Linked DNA regions of Homo sapiens: region 2 is linked to region 1. Evidence: promoter capture Hi-C in human tissues and cell types (Jung and others, 2019). All regions are on one chromosome and are shown on one strand. The core of a region is centred on a gene start or on the middle of the fragment in contact, and the rest is flanking DNA. Distances in the headings are between cores, read along the strand shown. Region 1 holds the start of MAST4 (microtubule associated serine/threonine kinase family member 4). Region 2 has its middle 35 kb from the start of LINC02229.

What was found. Contacts are between HindIII fragments. The study calls those that stand out against the background at their distance.
Region 2: a fragment that was not itself captured here is called in contact with the fragment with the promoter of MAST4 in region 1 in 1 of the 25 tissues and cell types used here (liver).

Annotation. Positions count from the first base shown.
Region 1 is chr5:66,593,548-66,599,326 of GRCh38, forward strand. MAST4 (microtubule associated serine/threonine kinase family member 4) reads left to right here and starts at 2,846. Exons shown (of 29, transcript NM_001164664.2): 1 at 2,846-3,471. The coding sequence starts at 3,109. RefSeq lists silencers at 2,482-2,681, 3,292-3,431, 3,442-3,591. The HindIII fragment of the contact is 9,602 bases long and covers 1-5,779 here.
Region 2 is chr5:66,543,735-66,549,513 of GRCh38, forward strand. No RefSeq gene overlaps it. Among named protein-coding and RNA genes, the nearest start is that of LINC02229, 35 kb to the left of the region's middle. The HindIII fragment of the contact is 4,535 bases long and covers 732-5,266 here.

The DNA of each region.
Region 1 (5,779 bases), core at 1,596-4,095:
CACAGGTGGGTGTGGAGATGAACAAGTACACTTTTAAACTGCAAGTTTTGAAGTAGAGTTTGAAATCTATTTAGTGGACTACAACTAGCATCTTTATTTTTAATAAAATATAAATTTCAGGGTGCATTGCTTAAAGGATGGGTAAGTATTGTCTCATGACATTTTATTTGTATTTGTACATATGCATATGTGTCATGAGTTCCAGTGTGAAATATATTTCTTATTTGAGGTTCAGGTTTAAAAAGTTCAAGAAATACTGATCTAGTACTTGACTTTGATCTGTAGAGGTTAAGAGCACAAATGCTGGGACCAAATGTTCAAATCTGAATCCTGGGTCCATCATTTGCTAGCTGTGTGACTTTAGCTGAATTACTTAACTTCTCTGTCATAGTTTTCACATATTTCACAAATATGATATGAGAATAGTAATAGTAGCTACCTCATTGGGCTGGTATGAGAATTGAGTATATTAACATTTTAAAGTGCTTAAAATCCTGCCTGGCACATAGTAAGTACCTTAAAAATGTTTGTGGGAAAAACAAATATGTTCCTCAAGTATTTTCTTTTACAGATTGAATCAATACAGCAAAGTTTCTTCCCTATGGATATTTATAATATGGTATATATATATATTTGAAAAAGCTGTCTGTTTTGAGTGGCATTGTATTAATACTAGAATGCCTAGGAAAGACAGCCTTGGAATCAGGTTGCTGGGTTCCAAACCACAGCTCCACTGCTTACTTGCTGTGTGACCTTTGCAGATCCTCAGTTTCTTAATCAATAAAGTGGGACTAATAGAATCTGTTTCACAAGGTTGTTGCCAGGATTAAATGAGACCATCCAGAGAAGATGCAGAGGACTCAGGCGATAATAACTATTGTCATTCTTGCTGTCGGTTATTCAGACCATGACCTTGCTTCTTATTTCCCTATGTACTGAAAAGCAACTCCTCCTCTTCTTTTATGTGCATGGCTGAAATTGTCATTTCAGTTCAGCTCTGGTGAATCAACCACGTAGGGGCTCAGATAAAGACCAGAACTCCTAAATAGGAAAGTAATTGTGAGGCCCGGGTTAAATTCGGACTGCCCCACTGTGCTCTCTCTTTAGCCTTGCTCTCACAACTTAGCTGCCACTAGACTTGACCTTTTGCCTCAGCAGGTCTTCATATCCCTGTGAATAATTCAGAAGCGTCACAATGAAAGCCTGACAACCGGAGTCCATTTTGCAGTATGGCTGTCTGAAGCAAGATAGACAAAACGTATTTCCTTCCCCTTCATCTTGAGGGGAGGAAACTGATCAGGACAAAGGTTGCTGTCCAATATGATGAAGCCCTCTGTGTGATGTATCACTTGTAAATACCATGATAGCATGAAAGGCTCATTAGCTGAAGGGGCTTTCAATTAGGGTCCTCCAGTTTTTAAGGACCTTTGGCAAGGCTGCTCTGACAAAGAGAAATCTAAGATGCTCAAGGACCTGCTACTGTTTTTCTGTAACTCTTTCCTCTTCTCCCTCACACATTTTTCCTGTATCACTTATCACAGCTTCTAAAATGGATAAGGGAGCTATATTATGCAGTATCAATCTCTCGCTTGACCATAAGCTGCTCAAGGGCAGGGGACCTGACTTATTAATCTTTGTATCCCCTGCACCTGGCACACATCTCCATCAACGTACATGGAACTGAGGCGGTTGAATTTACATCCCAGGTCACTGTGCCAGAGCTCAGAATGGGACTAGAGCTGAAGGCAAGAGAGGAATCATTTATTTCCCACTGCTGAGCTGAGTGCTGGCTTCCAAGGAAATTCCAGTCACCGGACAGGCAGCATCCTCCAGCCCCAGGGAAGGACTTAAGGGTACTCTATTGGTACCTTTAGTGAAAGTTCTTTCTCCTAGTTCTTAGAGGTAAGGAAAATGAAGCAACCTGTCCTGTATCCTGTTGGTTTACAACCCAGGGCTAGGAGAATGTACATTGGAAAGTGAATCCTTTTCATCCTCTGCTTAGCTGATCATACCGAGACAGACAATTTGAGTAGGACTACAGAGCTTGGTCCTAATTAAATACAAGGACATACTTTTTTATCTTCCTCCCTATCAAAAGGTTCAAGTCTCAGACTTAACTTTTTAGTTTACAAACAGAAATAAAGACAGGAAATAGTCTTTTAAAAACGCTCCGTGTATCCAAGCCAGGCACTTTGCTGATGCATTATATATATTTGCTCTAAGCCTGCCAAGACCAGTAGTAATGTAGCCATTTACAGTTGAGGAAACTGAGGCCCAAAGAGCTTAAACGGAAAAGCAGAGATTAGAGGTCACTCCCCTTTGGGTCCGCTCACTATACCACGAAGTTTCTGTCCTTTTCCTCCAACACGCTGGTGAGTCCGTGTGCGTGGGTGACTGTGTGTGTGTGGTTCCTTTTTTCCCTATAGAGCCCTCCTTCTTGTCCGTTTTCTTGATTCCACTTTTTGGAGACAAAGTCCAGTTCTTCTCCAAGGTCTCACCATCCGCTCGCCGTCTCCCTCTGACGTCCCAAGGACGGTCAGCCACTCCCCCGCTAAGTTCGGAGTCTCAGCCCTTGGCTCCGATTCTGGGCTCCGCCCCCACCCTCCGGGGACCCCCGCCTGGTCCCTGTCCCCTGCGCCCAGGCGCTCCAGCGGGACCACGGCCCGCGCCCGGGCCCCGCCTCCCCTACCTGAGGCCCTCATGGCCGGAGGCGTCGCAGCCTCCGCCCACCAGCGCGCCTGCCCTGCCATTGGCTCTGCGGGCTGCCCGTCTCCTTGCTCCGTCCCGGAGGCAGGTTTTGCAAGGAGAAGCCGCAGTACCCGCGGCTCGGGTGCAGCGCGGGAGCACAGTGGAGCGCAGATCGCGGACCCGAGCGGGCATGTCCCCGCGCGCGGGAGCCTCCGTTTGCGGCCGGGCCCGGGCGGCTGTGAACTTAGCAGCGGGCTCCTGCGGCCCCGTCACTGCCATGTAGTCGCTGGCGGGGCTCCCTGCAGCCCGGGAGCGGCAGTGCCAGTGAGCCTGAGCCCAGGAGCCCGCGTCTTCCCCGGGAGGCGCTGAGTGCGCGCCGCGCCCCCGCCGCTCGGGAGGCACTTTGGGCCAGACAGGGAAATGGGGGAGAAAGTTTCGGAGGCGCCAGAGCCGGTGCCCCGCGGCTGCAGTGGCCACGGCAGCCGGACTCCAGCCTCTGCGCTGGTCGCCGCGTCCTCTCCGGGTGCTTCCTCGGCCGAGTCCTCCTCGGGCTCAGAAACTCTGTCGGAGGAAGGGGAGCCCGGCGGCTTCTCCAGAGAGCATCAGCCGCCGCCGCCGCCGCCGTTGGGAGGCACCCTGGGCGCCCGGGCGCCCGCCGCGTGGGCTCCGGCAAGCGTGCTGCTGGAGCGCGGAGTCCTTGCGCTGCCGCCGCCGCTTCCCGGAGGAGCTGTGCCGCCCGCGCCCCGGGGCAGCAGCGCGTCCCAGGAGGAGCAGGACGAGGAGGTGGGCCTTTCCCCAGCTTGCCCACTCTGGGTTCCGGCAGCCGGGCGACCGTAGTTTCCCATCCTGCGCACAGGCAGTGGGCAGGAGAGCGCTGTGGCCTGGAGATAGGGAGGGACCCCAAGCGCTCTGCCCCGAGCACGGGACAACGATAGTTAGGAGCCCCCCTGTGGGTTATTGACTTCCCTGTGGCTGTTACCCCCGTGTGTGTGTCTCAGTGTGCTGCCTGATGGTGTGTTTTTAAAATGTCAGAGAAGCAAACTCCTTCGTGTTTGTATCTGACTTGGTTGATCTGTGAAAGGATGCGATCTGGACATCTGGCGTGTCCCCACAACTCACCTCTGATTCTCCAAAGTGGGCGTTGTTTCCCACCGAAGCGCTTGGGCCGAGGGGCAGGGAGTTGAGGGGGAGAAATGGTGCCTTGGGGGTAAGAGGCAGGAGTAGGGTGGGGGGCAGCGGTAGCCGCGGAGTTGCCTGCGGAGGTTTCAGTGGCGCCAGCCCCCTGGGATCGCCCGCGGGTGGTTTTGGCGCGTCCCCGCAGCGTCGGTCCTCTGGGAGAAGAGGACTCCCCGCGCTCCCTCGGTGGCGCTGGCGTGCGCGCCTGCAGCTCCCGTTCAGACTTGTTTCCAGCTTGTCCAGATGAACGCTTGTCACCAAACCGAGTACAGATCGTCTTACCTTTTGCGGGGCGGAGCGGGGTGGGGGATCTGTATCTGCCCAGTTTCCTGGAAGGATGTTCCTCCAGAACTTGTGGGTCGCTTCCTGACACACTGAGCATAGGACTCTGGTGTCCTTCTGGCTGCTCTGTCCGGCTTATTTTCTGCTTTTGGAGGACAGTTAAAGAAGTGTACAATTCTTCACGTCTCAGAGCCAGACTCAGTTTAAAAAAAAAAAAGATTGTTTGCTTTGGACGTTTCTTGTGGGGAAGTCATCTTGATCAGGCAGGGCCACAAATAAAACATCACCTTAACATAGACTTATTGTGAAATTAATTCCTGAGTGCCAGTGTTGTATTTTCCTCATCTTGGATGGGGTTAGCTTTAGTAAATAATTGCCTTTGTCCCTTAGAGTAAGCAATCAGAGGCCCCCAGCCTGGAAGCAAAAACTGGATGTGGCACAAGGTTGAGAGGAGGCGAGTCCTAGCTTGGCAGAGATGGAACAAGCCTTAGCTGCTTAGCTGGTTCTTGGCCAAGCCACTTGCAGTAACCATGACCCATTCCCTAATTCCCCTAAGCCCCCATTGCAAGGATCCTGGATAAGGGTCTGGAGGCCTGCTTTCTAGAACTGCCTCTGCTACTGAGTGGTGAGACCTTGGGTATATCATTTCACTCCTCTGAGGTTCAGTTCCATAATCTGTAAAAGGAGGAGCTTCAAGGTAAATTTCATTTTCACTCTCATACTCCTGTTTCGAATCAGGAATTTCAGATGAATCCATAGCTCCAAATCGATCCTAGCGGCGGGATGTCAGGAGTTTGCTGAGTTCCTCACCCACCGCAGAGCTACATCCTAGCGGAGATGATCAAACCCTGTACTGCCCCAGCCTTCCTCGCTGATTACATCTCCCTTTCAAGGTGCGGGGCATGTGCCACGTGTTTGCCCCTTAACTTCTGCCTCCACTTCTACAGATGAGCACACTGGCATTGGGAAGCTGGGGGTGTACCCTAACTTAATGATTCACCAATAGTTCCTAATTTAGTATTGCCGCTGGTGGAGAGTAGTTAGTTGCTTTATGTTTTCTATTTAGCTAGGAGGGTGCTCCATGGTAAGTGACATGGTCTTGCAGGTGGTGGGGAGGGATGTTGTCGGGGAACTTCTGATCCCCATTCTGTCGCTGATTTATTGCCTGGCCTCAGGGTGACAGTGCTTTGCTTTGTTGGAAGTGGATATAATGATAACTTATTTCACAGGCAATGCAGTGAGAACTGGTTGATTGAAACACATTTTGGAAAGTGGAATGATTAAATAACATGGGTCACTATTTGTGAAATCTCAGAATTGCGTGTAAACTGATACAGTATTGCAATTTATTATGTAACTTAACCTGCGGCATGGGATGCTGGAAATTTCCCAGGAGCAAAATCTTGACTTGCTCTGAGAATTTTAAAGTGAAACGAAAACCAAACCATGTAGTTTTTTCCCCTCTTATGGAGTAGAGGAGTGATAATCTTTGTGAAAGGGGTTGAAGTCCAGTGTGCATTTTCTGGTTCTTACACTGGTGATGGTATGGGGCAGGGGGGTGTTCACCTTCACTGTTTGTGGGGTTGTGGGCCTCTTTAAGGAGCAAATGAAACCTCTTTTGCCCCTCTCCTCA
Region 2 (5,779 bases), core at 1,749-4,248, 50 kb before region 1:
TGGAGTCAAATTTACTTTTTTTTTTCCTTTATAGTTTGTGCTTTTTGTGTCCTAAGAAATCTTTGCCTAATGTGAGGTCACAAATATTTTTTCCTATGTTTTCTTTGAGAAGTTTTATAGTTTTAGCTCTTACATTAAGGTCTATGATCCATTTTGAGTTAATTTTTATGGGTGATGTAAGGTAAGGGCCACGTTTCTTTTCTTTCCTTATGAATGTCCAGTTGTTCTACATGATTATTTCACTACCGAATTCCTTTGGTACTTTTATTGAAAACCAGTTGACCGTACATTAGTGAGTGTGTTTATGGACTCTGCTATGATCCATTGATTTAAATGCCTATTCTTACATAAATATCATATTTTCTTATTGTAGCTTTGTAGTAAGTCTTAAAATCAGTTAGTGTAAGGTGTCCAACTTTGATCTTTCTTTACAAAATGTTTTGTCTGGTACAAGCCACTTGCATTGCCTTATAAATTTTAGAGAGAGCTTGTATATTTCTACAAAAAGACTGCTGAGAGTTTGGGATTGCATTGAATCTATACAGCAATTTGGAAAGAATTGACATCTTTACAAAATTAAATGTTCTAATGCATAAGCATGGTATACTTCTCCATTTTACATCTTTTTAAGTTTCTTGCTGCAATGTTTTACAATTTTCATTGTACAAATATTGTACATATTTTGTTAAATTAATATGTAAGTCTTTCATATGTTAGTGCTGTTATAAATGCTGTTGGATTTTTTAAGTTTAATTTCCAAATGTTCCTTAATAGTGTTTAGAATTACAATTGATTTTGTATATTAGCTTTGTATTCTATAACCTTGTAAAAATCACTTATTTGTACTAGTAGCTATCTTTTTACATTTTTTAGGACTTTTTACACGGCCTGTTTCACTGCTTCCTTCCTAATACATATTTTATTTCTTTCTACTGTCCATTGTAATTTTACTGCTTTCTTTCCAATCTATATGCCTTTTATTTCTTTTCTTGCCTTTCTGCATGATTTTAAGCATGATTTTAGCTGTAGAGTTTTTTGTACATGCCCTTTATCAGGCTAAAGAAGTTCCTTTCTATTTCTATCTGGCTGTGAGTTATTATTCTTAGATGCTGGATTATGTCAAATCTTTTCCTGACATCTATTGAGATCACCATATGTTTGGTTTTTCAGTTTGTTTTTAGTTTGCTAATATTGTGGGTTACATTAATTGATTTTCAAAGTTAAACTAACATTACATTCTTGGAATGATATCCACATGGTCACGATATATTATACATTGTATATATAGCTGGGTTTAATTTGCTAAAATCTTATTAAAATTTTATTATTGTTGGACCTTTATTTAAGAGGGATATTAGTTCCGTTGCTTTCCTTTCTTTGAATGTTTTTGTTTTGGTATTAAAATTAAGACAATGCTGACTTCTTAAAATGGAAATACTAGAATAGAATTTGTATTATTTCTTTCTTAAGTGTTTGGTAGAGTTCATCAATGAAACAGTCTAGGTTTGACATTTTCTTTGTGAGAAGGTCAAATTACAAATTCAGTTACTTTTCTAGATAGACTGTTCAAATGGTCTACCTTTTGGATGAGCTTTGATTATTTTTATCTTTCAAGGAATTGATCCTACTAATCTAAGTTGTCAAAATTATTGGTAAAAATTATGCATAATATTTTCTTATCCTTTTAACATTCATAAGATAACTCTTGATATTGGTAATTTGTGTTATATATTTTTAAAGTAATCAGTCTGGCTAGAGCCTTATCAATTTTATTGATCTTTTCAATAACCACATTTTTGTTTCACTGATTTTTCTCCAGTTTTTTTTTTTGTTTCATTTATTTCTGCTCTTGTCTTTTTATTTCTTTTATTCTACTTATTTTAGTTACAATTTGCTCTTATTTTTCTTGTTTATTAAGATGAGAAGCTTAGATAATTAAATTGAGATCTTTTATCTTTTCTAACATAAGCATTTAATGCTATAAATTCCCCTCCAAGGACATTTTAAACTGCATCCCACACATTTTGATATTTTTTGTTTTCATTTTTATTCCATTTAAAAATATTTCTCATTTCTCTTATAGTTTCTTCTTTGTTTTCATTTGTTATTTAGAAGTATTGTATAATTTCTAAATATTTGACCATTTCCCAGATATCTTTTTGGTATTTATCTCTAGTTTCATTCTTTTGTGGTCAGAAAACATATGTCATGTGACTTCAATTTATTAAAGACTTGTTTTGGCTCAGAATATTATCTATTTTGGTGAATTTCAATGTGTGCTTTAAAAATATGTATTCTGCTATTATTGGGTGACTATTAAACATAGTTTCAAACAGAATCAATTATGTTAATTTGTTGATGGTGTTGATTAAGTCTTCTATACCTTTATTATTTCCTGTTTACTTGTTTTATCAATGACTAAGATTAGAATTTTAAAATCTCCAATATAATTTTGGTTTTATCTATTTCTTCTTTTGGTTCTATCAGTTTTATTATACTTCATGTATTTTGAAGGTCTATTATTATATGCATATACCTTTAGGATTTTTATGTCTTTCTGTGAATTATCCTCTCCTTACTATGAAATGTATTATTTCTTGCTCTAAAGTAGGACTGTCCAATCTTTTGTCTTCCCTAGACCACACTGGAAGAAGAATTGTCTTGGGCCACATATAAAATACACTAACAGTAAAAATAGCTGATGAACTAAAAAAAGAAATAGCAAAAAAAAAAAAAAAACCTCATAATGTTTTAAGAAAGTTTACAAATTTGTGCTGGGCTGCATTCAAAGCCATCCTAGGCTGCATGCAGCCCACAGGCCATGATTTAGACAAGCTTGCTCTAAAGTCTATTTTGTCTGATACTAACACAGCTATTCTGGCTTTTTGTACTTAGTGTTTGCATGGTAAATATTTTTCAATTCTTTTACTCTTAACCTATTTTTGTCTGTACATTTAAAGTTAGTTTCTTTTTTTTTTTGTAAAGGCATCACACAGTTGGGTCTTGCTCTTTTTCTTAAAATCTCTGCCTTTTAATTAAAGTACTTAGGCTATTTACATTTAATGTAATTATTTCTATGGATGGGCTTAAATATAATATTTGACTATTTGTTTTTATGTTTGTTCTATCTACTCATTTCTTTTCTATTTCCAGTCTTCTTTTAGATTAATACTTTTTAAATGATTTCATTTTATTTCCACTCTTGGCTTCTTAGTGATACCTGTTTGTTTTATTTATTTTTAATGGTTATTCTAATGTTTACAGTATACATTTTTATTTTATCAAAGACTAATGTCAAATAATATTATACCATTTTACATATGGTTTATGAACCTTGTACCCGTTACTTGCACTTCTGTACTTTCACTATGTGTAATTGTTGCTATAAATTTTACTTCTTCATATGGTTTGTTTTACATGTTTAGAATATTTTTTTTTTACTTTAAACAGTCAATATTTTTTGTATACGATTTTTAAAAAGAGATAAAAGCAATATTTTGTATTTACTCACATACTTACCATTTCTGGCTCTCTTTAGTACTTTATGGATTTCCATCTGGTATCATTGAACTTCCTTTAATTTTGCTTATAATTCATGTTTGTTGGTAATGAATTTTAGTTGTTTAAAATATCTCTAGTTTGCTTTCAAATTTGAAGATATTTTTATGAGTAAAGATTTTTTATTTTTATTTAAATTAGTTTATTTTTAATTTTTGTGGCTACATAGTAAGTGTGTATATTTATGGGGTACATGAGATGTTTTAATATAGGCCTGCAATGCGTAATAATCACATCATGGAGAATGGGGTATCCAACCCCTGAAGCATTTGTTCTTTGTGTTACAAACAATCCAATTACATTATTTTTAAAGGTACAATTAAGTTGTTATCAACTATGGTCACCCTGTTGTGGTATTAAATAGTAGGTCTTATTCATTCATTCTAACTATATTTTATACTCATTAACCATCCCCACCTCCCCAGGAAAGATTTTTAGATTGACATTTTGTTCTTTTCATATGTTAAAGATGGCTTACCATTGTCTTCTGACTTGCATAGTTTCTTGTAAGAAGCTTGATACCATTCTTGTCATTATCCCTTTTTACATATCTTTCTTCTCTGGCTACTTTAAAAAATTTTTTCTTTATCAATTGATTTTAGTAATTTAATTATAATGTGGCAAAGTATATTTTCTTTATTTCATTCTGCTTGAATAAATTGAGCTTCTTGAATCTGAAAGTTTATAGGTTTTATTAAATTTGGAAAATTTTGACCATTGTTTAAATATTTTTTGTTCCCTCCCCTCTTTTTTTCTGAGGCTCTAATTACACATATATTGGCCCACTTGATAGTGTCCCACAGGTCACTATTACCCTCTTCTTATTTTTTCATTTGTTTTTCTGTTTCATTTTGGTTATTTCCATTATTATGCCTTAAAATTTATTGCTCTTTCCTTTTCAGTGTCTATTTACTATTAATTCTACACAGTGTATTTTTTATTTAAGATGTTAGTTTTTTTCTTCAGTAGTTTATTTGGATCTGTTTTATATAATTAATTTTTTTCTCCATATCATGGTCATGTTTTCCTTTATCTTCTTAAACATATACAGGATATTTATAATAGCTGTTCTAACATTTTTTTTTTCAGATTCTTGTCTGCTAGTTCCACCATCTCTGTCATTTCAGGCTATTTCTGTTAATCGAGTTTTCTCATGCATTTAGTTCTTATTTTCCTACTTTATTGTAAGCCTGTTAATTGGTTATTGGTTACATTGTTGATTGCTGGATTTTGTGGTATTCTTTTTAATAGTGTTGGATTTTTGTCCTGGTGTACAATTAATTTACTTGGAATCATTCGAATCTTTTAAAGACTTCATTTTAAGTTTTGCTAAATTAAAAGAGTGGCCTTTAGTAGTATGGGGCTAAAGAATATCTGATTCCATCCTACAACTTATAGATTATGAGTACTTTCCACTCTTACTCTGTATAAACTCTGGGAATTGTTCTGCCTAAATATCCTGATGGTTATTTTCCTGGCCTCAGATAGTTTCTGCTCAGACACACACAGATGGGTATGCAGCCAAAGACTCAAGAGGACCCCTCTATAGATCTCGTGAGCTTTTTCTCTGGGCAACTAGTACTTTGACCAACAATATTTTACTGCCTCAGCCTCCCTGAACTCCTCTTCCTGTGTTTTTACCTCAAAGAGACTACTGAATTTTGATTTCCTCATCTCTGCACTGCAGTCTAAATTGCCTCCTAAGCAATAAACTGGTACAATTATTCAGCTGACCTTATTTGTTTACCCTCTGTCAGGAATCACAGTCTCTTGATATCTGCTGTTCAACATCTGTGTAGTAGGCACCTTCTAAGATGGCCCCTAATGATCCCAGCTGTTATGGTTTGGCTCTGTGTCCCCACCCAAAACTCACCTCGAATTGTAATCCCCACAGGTCAAGGGAGGGACCTGTAATCTCCATGTGTCGAGGAACGGAAGTGATTGGATTATGGGGGTAGTTTCCTGCATGCTGTTCTTGTGATAATGAGTGAATTCTCACAAGAACTGATGGTTTTATAAATAGTAGTTTTTCCTGTGCACTCACATTCTCTCCTGCTGCCATGTGAGAAGTCCCAGCTTGCCTCCCCTTCACCTTCCACCATGATTGTAAGTTTCCTGAGGCATCCCCAGCCATGAGGAACTGTGAGTCAACTAAACCTCTCTTCTTTATAAATTACCCAGTCTTGGCTATTTCCTTAGAGCAGTGTGAGAACAGACTAAT